3 separate regions of the Homo sapiens genome follow, and regions 1 and 3 are each linked to region 2. Evidence: promoter capture Hi-C in 16 types of primary human blood cells and fetal thymus (Javierre and others, 2016). All regions are on one chromosome and are shown on one strand. The core of a region is centred on a gene start or on the middle of the fragment in contact, and the rest is flanking DNA. Distances in the headings are between cores, read along the strand shown.

What was found. Contacts are between HindIII fragments. The CHiCAGO score rates a contact against its expected background, and 5 or more counts as called.
Region 1: a contact is called between a fragment that was not itself captured here and the fragment with the promoter of MALT1 in region 2, in 12 of 17 cell types (activated CD4 T cells, naive B cells, monocytes and 9 more). The highest score is 23.3, in activated CD4 T cells.
Region 3: a contact is called between a fragment that was not itself captured here and the fragment with the promoter of MALT1 in region 2, in 4 of 17 cell types (non-activated CD4 T cells, naive CD8 T cells, naive CD4 T cells and 1 more). The highest score is 5.7, in non-activated CD4 T cells.

What each region holds. Positions count from the first base shown.
Region 1 is chr18:58,528,011-58,530,751 of GRCh38, forward strand. ALPK2 (alpha kinase 2) reads right to left here. Exons shown (of 13, transcript NM_052947.4): 6 at 1,081-1,228. Among named protein-coding and RNA genes, the nearest start is that of ALPK2-AS1, 28 kb to the right of the region's middle. The HindIII fragment of the contact is 2,609 bases long and covers 78-2,686 here.
Region 2 is chr18:58,670,053-58,672,877 of GRCh38, forward strand. It overlaps MALT1 (MALT1 paracaspase), which reads left to right and starts at 1,413. Exons shown (of 17, transcript NM_006785.4): 1 at 1,413-1,800. The coding sequence starts at 1,592. MALT1-AS1 (MALT1 antisense RNA 1) reads right to left here and starts at 1,821. Exons shown (of 2, transcript NR_164150.1): 1 at 1,417-1,821; 2 at 1-756. LOC105372146 (a long non-coding RNA gene) reads right to left here. Exons shown (of 4, transcript XR_935537.3): 4 at 2,561-2,807. RefSeq lists an enhancer at 732-991 and a silencer at 1,152-1,941. The HindIII fragment of the contact is 13,202 bases long and covers 1-2,825 here.
Region 3 is chr18:58,511,200-58,514,080 of GRCh38, forward strand. The region is part of intron 10 of ALPK2 (alpha kinase 2); the gene reads right to left. Among named protein-coding and RNA genes, the nearest start is that of ALPK2-AS1, 44 kb to the right of the region's middle. RefSeq lists enhancers at 302-1,073, 1,074-1,843. The HindIII fragment of the contact is 2,835 bases long and covers 57-2,881 here.

The sequences.
Region 1 (2,741 bases), core at 132-2,631, 140 kb before region 2:
GGGAGCTAAACTGGGAACCCTTTGGCAGAGGGTTGACTTTTGAACCAGGTGATTTGTTTCTAGATTGTGTCAGATGAAGCTTGAATTCATCAGTTCACTTGAACAAGCATTTATTGCCAAGAAAAGCTGCTTAAGGAAGCCAGTAATCAGGTTTATTCCACAGGGGATATTCTTGGCAATGATTCTCACGCTCATCTCTTGCCTCCTCATTCTTCTCTCCTTTATTATCTTAAGGACATGGCTGGACGCAGTGGGTCACTCCTGTAATCCCAGCACTTTGGGAGGCTGAGGCAGGTGGATCACTTGAGGCCAGGAGTTCAAGACCAGCCTGGGCAATGTGGCAAAACCCTGTCTCTACTAAAAATACAAAAGAAAATTAGCCAAGCATGGTGGTGTGCTCCAGTAATCCTAGGTACTCGGGAGGCTGAGGTGGGAGGATCACTTAAGCCCAGGAGGTGGAGGCTGCAGTGAGCCGTGATTGCACCACTATACTCCAGCCTGGGAGATGGGAGTAGCACCTTGTCTCAAAAATAAAAATAAAAATCATAGGGACCCAGAAATAAACAGGTTTTCCCATCTTAGTGATGGCTGCTGGTCACCCTCAATAGCTGTTACTTTTCTGTAACCTCATAGATTGCTGTTGTTGTTGTTTTTATTCATCTCCTTAGCTTTGTTTGACCTTTATCAGATTACTGGGAATTTATGAAACAGAAAACACACCCAAGTTAAATTCACAGACATACAGATGAGAGCTCTTTAATCTTAGGACCACAGAACCTCAGACTAGAATATCATTTGACATGTTCCTTCCCCTGATTTAAAAAATGTAGTGAAAGGTTGTGTGACTTCCCAAAACCCCAGAACTCAATTCTGGCAAAACCTGGGCAAGAATCCTCCATCATTTTCCCCATCCAGACACTTGTCTTCCGATATTTAGTCTTTTTTAATATTGTGGATGTGGAATCTCTGCTTCAATTTTCCTTTTCACGTCCTATAATTTATTCTTTTTTCTTTTTTACAACCATGTTGTGAAATAAACAAGCAACAACTGTGAAAAGTAACCAGGGAAAAACATCGCACCTTCTCTGCACTTGGGCTATGGACTTTGAATCTTTTGTCCAGCAGATAGTAGAATCTTCATGAATTTCTGCAAATTGGCAGCTTAATTTTACATTTCCAGAGTGTTCAGGGAACATCTCAGCTTGGATCTTTTTCAGTAATACTGGAGCTAGAAACAAGATATTTGAAGGTCAGTGTAACAAAAGACTTTCCCATTTCATACCATTTAATTCTCATAACAATCCTGAGAGACAGGAATATTAATTATTATCCCCAATTATGGAAGTGAGAATTGAGTCTCTGAGGGGAGAGGTGGCTTGCCTAAATAGTCGGAAAATTTACAAATCAATCTAATAGAAAATGCTCACTTCCATTACTTAAAATTCTTTAGGTGCAGCCTGTAATGCTTAAAGTGAAATAGAACTTGAGAGATTTTTTCTAAAGGGGATGAGAGGTGGGAGGATTTTAGATATCTATTCTATAGGATCTCATCCAAATAAAGATGTTTTTAAATGATTACCAGATCATCCAGGTCGAAATCAGAGCTAGGAATTAGGGAGTAGAATAAAATCTGGATTATCCAAAAAACTACGGCTAAGCCCCCAAAATGTAAAAGACACCTCAACAATAGGTTATTGGCTGAATAATATTCATCTTTTCCCTTTTATCACACTTGTCTTTGCTGAAGATAACCTAGTAGATTGGAGTGATGTCTGATATCAACCTCATTAGCAAAAGAGAATAGAAGCAATAAGGAAACAATTCCCACTGGTTGGGCTGAGACCTTTGAAATATCACCTCAGTATCAATATCAGTGAGGAACAATTAGCATGCTAATGTGTAATTAGCTAGGGCAGCCACTGGGCGGCAGCCTAGACATTAGAACAAGACAAGGATGAGGCCCCTGTCCCGAGTGGTCGTAACAATTGGGTAGGAAATGAGATTACTGCAGATGTGTGAGTCTATCACAAATTAAGTAGCATAACTCCACAGCGTTGGTAACACAAAAAAGTACATCAGTATAAAACATATGTAATCCGTAGCCAAACCAAGATCACCAATACTGAGACTTTGCTCCACTGCCTCAAATTATACTACGGTGAAAATATCCATGAATTCAAGGTGCTTCTCATCTCTCCTTGGCACCAGCAGATGCTAGGATGACAGAATGCATATTTAAAAGCTAATTCTCTACCCTGGAAGTGATAATGGGCCTGTTGGGTAGCAAATCTTTCAACCAGAGAGTAACCAAGACTGCTAACAGTATCCTGGGAGCCAAGTGGATAATTGAGAGAGAGAGAAAATGTAACAAGTACGTATTGATGGCAAACCCGCATCAGTGCATTTGGGCCTGCTGGTTCCTGCCCAAGCTGAGACCGTGTTCAGGTTCACAATGTCAAACTCTTGGTCCAGGTCTCGACCAAGCCCACCTCCTCATCTGGGCCATTTCCTAGAGGGTCTTTCCAACACCATGCAGTGGCCGGCTTCATGGGTGATGTGGGGACACCTAAATATTCCTAAGCCTGCCAGAACCTGTTGTACCGAACACAAGGAAAATTGGAGGATGGCGGGAAGGGCATGAAATGGGCAGCAGAACTGAATGATGGATGGTCTGTGGGAGATTTGAAGCTTGTTTAGCCGAGGGGCTTTGGGCTTTGGATAGGACCCCTGACTATGTGAGA
Region 2 (2,825 bases), core at 163-2,662:
CAGGTAACAGATCCTCAGAAAATATTTGTACAGTAATTGAGGACAAAACAGGAAGGCACCTGAAGCGGTTGGGAAAGGCTTGCCAAGTCAAACTGAGTATGAAACGGCACTTGTATGTGTAAGGGTAATAGCATTTACTGAGTCATCTACGATGTGCCAGTTACCGAGTTAAGTGCTTCACATACATCAACTCCTTTAATTCTGGCAACAACTCTATATAAACTGTATTGTCAGTCCTGTGTTAATAGATGAGGCAGAGAAATTAAGAAACTTATTCAAGCTCCTAACACTTGAATCGAGCAGATCTTTCATGCTCTTAGCCATCTCACTGCAGTCTGAATTCTTAACTTATGCTAGAGTGAAGTTTAATGACTGCTTGTGCTAGAATGTGGTGGAGACTGTATGGCGCACCTACCTCGCCAACATGTATAAGAATATAGGTATCCAAATTACTGGTCAGAAAATCCTGCGGCCTTGGGTGATGAAAAGCTAATGGCAACAGAAATTGGGCCAGGAAGCCTCGTGTAGGGAACTACCTGACTGGTCACATTTCGTAAGTTACTTCCTTTTTGTCCCAAACGAAGCCATAGTTTTCAAAGGGATAATGGCCTTGGATGTTGCTAAGATTGGCAGAGAGAGCTCAGGTGTCGTCCATTCCGGATCATTCCAGGGAAAGGCATCCTCTACAGGGTTGCCTGCTTTGATGACGGAGATTGCGGGCGGCAGTCTGACGCGGTGTAAACCAGATGATTCCTGCTAAAAACAATCATTTCCAAGATCTGATTAGCCCTAAATATGCCACAGCTCAGTTTGCAAAGTAGTAATTGTTTAAAAGTCTAGGCAAAGATTTTGGCCAATTCCAACTCAAGTATCCGGATCTCCAGCACTACTTCCCTCTAGCAATGCCATACACATCTAACCCTAAAACGAGGAAGCGTCCGCTGAGGTTGCCCACTGCAGGATGCTGGTGTGTCGCCGGGCACATGAAAGTCCCTGAGTCAGGGGAGAGCGCTCGCCGGGGACTGCGGGCGGGAGCCGGCGACTGAGAACCGCTTGCCCCGCTCTCTGGCGTGAGTACGCAGGCCTCCTCCCACGGTCTCAGGAAGCCCAGACGCCGCAGGCTTCCCCGCCGTAGAGGAGCTGCCGGGGCGTAATTCCTCCACCGCTTCCTCCTCCAGCTGCACCCACCCGTCCTTTCCTGCTCGGGAGGGCTGGGTTTGAAGCGCGCGCCACGGCCAGCCCGGGACCGCGGGGGAGGGCGAGGGAGGCGCGCAGCCGCACGCACGCAGTAGGCAGCCCCGCCCCGCCCCTCGAGGCCCAAGGTCCCGCCCCTCGAGGCTCCGTGCCCCGCCCCCCGGGTGCCCCGCCCCTTTGCGCGGCTGGCGCGGCCAGCAGGCCAGGCTCCCCTCGGCAAACCTGTCTAATTGGGGCGGGGAGCGGAGCTTCCTCCTCTGAGGGCCGTGCCGCGCTGCCAGATTTGTTCTTCCGCCCCTGCCTCCGCGGCTCGGAGGCGAGCGGAAGGTGCCCCGGGGCCGAGGCCCGTGACGGGGCGGGCGGGAGCCCCGGCAGTCCGGGGTCGCCGGCGAGGGCCATGTCGCTGTTGGGGGACCCGCTACAGGCCCTGCCGCCCTCGGCCGCCCCCACGGGGCCGCTGCTCGCCCCTCCGGCCGGCGCGACCCTCAACCGCCTGCGGGAGCCGCTGCTGCGGAGGCTCAGCGAGCTCCTGGATCAGGCGCCCGAGGGCCGGGGCTGGAGGAGACTGGCGGAGCTGGCGGGGAGTCGCGGGCGCCTCCGCCTCAGGTGAGCTCAGGGCCGCGGCAGGCCGGGCGCGCGGGTCGAGCGGGGTGGGCTGCGGTGGGGAGGTGGGGGCGCTGTCGGTGGGGCTGAGCGCGGCGGGGGCCGCCGGCGTGAGTGAGCGGAGGTGGGGAGGACTTCGGTCATTGAGGCGGAGCGGAACTCAGCAGCTCCCCGGAACGCCTGGGGTTTGAGAGCGGGGCCCAGGGCTCTGGAGGGTGGAGGCAAAAGTGGCCCAGCGGCTGCCTCGCTCCCTGTTCCCACCCCCGCCCCTGGTGAAAGGGAGAAGTCGAGGTTGACCCCGGAGGATAGTGAGAGAAGGAAAGCTGTCAGGGGACCCCTAGGATGGGGCAGTCATCCAGAGGACTTAAAATGCAAAAGAAAGGGATGTGGACACTGCTCTGGGAGACCTAAGGAAGGCTGGGAAGAAGCGCAGGCGAGGTGATGAATGCAGAGGGTGGGGTGCAGGAATTCATGAACATTTTGCAAGGTATTGGGAAAGACTGACGCCGAACTCATCATCTCCCTCCATCAAACCAGGTTACCACGTTCTCTTCTTGACTTCACCATGAACATGAAACTCGAAGTAAAACTATTTTCCTTGTTAGGTTTGGAATGGCTGTATTAGGGTTCCTGAAGTTTTGGTCTCGAGACTCCTTTACCCTCTTAAGAATTATTGAGGACCCCAGAGAGCTCTTATGTGGGTTAGAGATAATACATACATGTAATACATACTGATATTTACCACCTTTGAAATTAAAGCTAAGACATTTAAAAAATATTAATTTATTTAAAAAGAATAACCCATTATATGGTAACAGAAATAATACTTTCGTGGAAAAACAAATTTTCCAAAACAAAAAAGTCTATTAGAGAAGTGGCATTGGTTTTCATTTTGAAGATCTCTTTAATGTCTTGGCTTAATCACAGAGCTGGATTCGTTTATGTGCTTCTGCATTCAGTCTGTCGCACTATTACAGGTCACAGAACGCTGGAAACTGCAGTGTCCACTCCTGAAAGAATGAATGAAA
Region 3 (2,881 bases), core at 224-2,723, 160 kb before region 2:
ATATGTTGAACCAGCCTTGCATCCCAGGGATGAAGCCCACTTGATCATGGTGGATAAGCTTTTTGATGTGCTGCTGGATTCGGTTTGCCAGTATTTTATTGAGGATTTTTGCATCGATGTTCATAAGGGATATTGGTCTAAAATTTAATAAACTCTTTATTGCAATTTCCCTGTCTTGATAAATCAGCTCTGTCTGTACAGCGGACAAGGTGAACCCATCCAGCGGTTACATGCACACACCAGCTGGGGCACAGGTCCTGCCCTGCTCACTTGCTCTTGCCTCTGTGAGAGCTGGGAGTGTTCTCCCGGAACAATGCCCTGTACTTCTCCACCCAGGCTGTGCCTTCTCCCAGGAGGTAAGCTGAAGGCTTTACGTGGTTATTAACTTGAGCCAAAGGTGCTTGGAAAAACATTATTTTTTATTAAAACAAATATAGTCATAAAGGAAGGAGGACACAACATTCAATAGAATTTAAAAGCTATAAAATATTACACTTCAAAGAAATTACACCTGCGGGCCAGCTAATTTGGATGAAGCCCCCAGACCCTTTGACGGGCACACAGGCATCCTCCTGTGCCATTTAGGAGCATTTCCTGGAAACTGTGAGAATCCCCTTCACTTCATGAAGAGGACACAGAGGCTTGCTCATGAGCAGAATCTGAGCCAGAACAGTGTCCTTCTAGAACCCCACCCCTGGACACAAGGCCCCTCTAATACCAGCGTACCCTGATTACTATCATGCCAGAGTCTTTGAGACATTCTTTCTAATTTTAAGATAGAACCTCTTTGTGTCTTGTTAAAGAAATTTCAAATTTCAGCCAGATGGGAGTGGGCACATTAGGACAGTGGACCTTTCCCGCAGCCCTGAAATCGGTGCAGCCGCCAAGCCACCCTCTGTCGTGCTTTGTCACTTCTGCAGGATCCAGGGCACCCTGATTCCCTCCTGAGGACCGACCCCCTGTGGCTACTGACCCTTCTGCCAACAAAAGGATTCACGGTTTGCTTGGGCTCTTATTAATTCTGCATCCCTGGTGGGGAAAAAAACCAGAAACAAGAGCTGGGCATTATTCAGGGTCTTAATTAGGCCTGGCCTCTGCCCAGCAGGACGCCATTTGCATAGACAATGTGACTCCATTGATATTCATGAATTCAAAAACAGAAGCTGCCCAAATGAGGAGTGTTTTATCTCCAAGACCTCACATGCTCCGTTAAAAAAGGCTTCTTCAGGCCTGCTTCATTGCCTGGAAATAAATATGGGGGTGGCCCCAGCGGGGGTCAGTCTAGGGGCTGTGGCAGTGGGGGAGGGGGACAGGACTCCTGGTCCTCTCTCTAGACGTGCAGGCTTTCAGAGAAGGTTGGTAATATACAGGGTCAGCTCTGTGTGCGTGTGTTGTGTGTATGTGTTGTGTGTGTGGTTTGTGGTTGTGTGATGTGTATACGTATGTGTGGTGTGTGTGTGCTGTGTGTGTGTGTGGTATGTGTGTGGTATGTTCGTGTGGTGTGTATGTGTATGTGTGTATTGTCTGTGGTGTGTGTGTTATGTGGTGTGTGTTGTGTGTATGTGTATGTGTGTGGTGTGTGTGGTGTGTGGGGGTGTGTGTGATGTGTGTGAGGTGCATGTATGAGGTGTGTGTGTGTGTGTATGTGGTGTGTGTGTGGTGTGTTGTATGTGTGGTGTGTGTGGGGGTGTGTAATGCGTATGTGTGTGGTGTATGTGTGATGTGTGGGGTGTGTGGGGTGTGTGGTGTGTGTGTTGTATGTGTGGTGTGTGTATGTGTGGTGTGTGTGTGGTGTGTGTTGTGTGTTTATGTGGGGTGTGTGTGGTGTGTGGTTTGTGTGTGGTGTGGTGTGTTTGTGCATATGGTGAGTGTTGTGTGTTTGTGTGTGGTGTGTGTGTGGTATGTGTGTTGTATGTGGTGTGTGTTTGTATGTAATCTGTGTGGTATGTATGTGTGGTGTGGGGGTGTGTGTGGGGTGTGTGTTTGTGTTGTGGGTGTGTTTATGTGTATGGTGAGTGTTGTTTGTGTGGTATGTGTGTGTGTATGGTGAGTGTTGTTTGTGTAGGGGGTGTGTATGTGTGTTTTTTGGCTGTGGAGTCCTCTGATTTAGGTTCCATAAACATGGAGTCTGGCCCAGAGGCCCTTCTGAGGCCCCTTACTCCTCCCATGTACCGTCAGCATTCATGTGGTCACAAACTGTCCCCTTGTAAGGAATGGGAAAGTGGTTTAGATAGAAAAATGTCCTAACCTATCTTTAAGGCAGTGGCCTATTTACTGTGATGCTAATGCAGCAAATGAATCAGCCTCCTGATCCTTCACTTGCATGAGCCCTTTCCAAGTCCCTAGATCAATTATTTACAATTTTGTGTTCTTTTCTTTAAAAAGGACCCAAATTTGCCAGGCATGGTGGCTCATGCCTATAACGCCAGCACTCTGGGAGGCCGAGGCAGGAAGATCACTTGAGGCCAGGAGTTGTAGGCCAGCCTGGGCAACATACAGAGACCCTGTCTCTACGAGAAAATTTTTTTTAATTAGCCAGGTGTGGTGGTGAGCACCTGTAGTCCCAGTTACTTTGGAGGCTGGATCACTTGAGCCCGGGAGGTCAAGGCTGCAGTGAGCCGTGATTGCACCACTGCCCTCCAGCCTGGACAACAGAGGGAGACCATGTCTCTTAAAAAAAATAAAACAGAAAGGAAAGAAAGAAGCCCAAATTGCATAAGAGTCAAGCCACACAAAACTTGGGTCTGTCCCTGCTGGAGGGCACTGTGGTTCTGTGTGTGGTAGGGTTGACTTGTGGGTTAAATCTTTTCTTTTTTGAAGAAAACTTAAGAGGACAGACACTGGGAAGAGCGGGGCTTGGGGAAAAAAGGAGCCAGTTCCC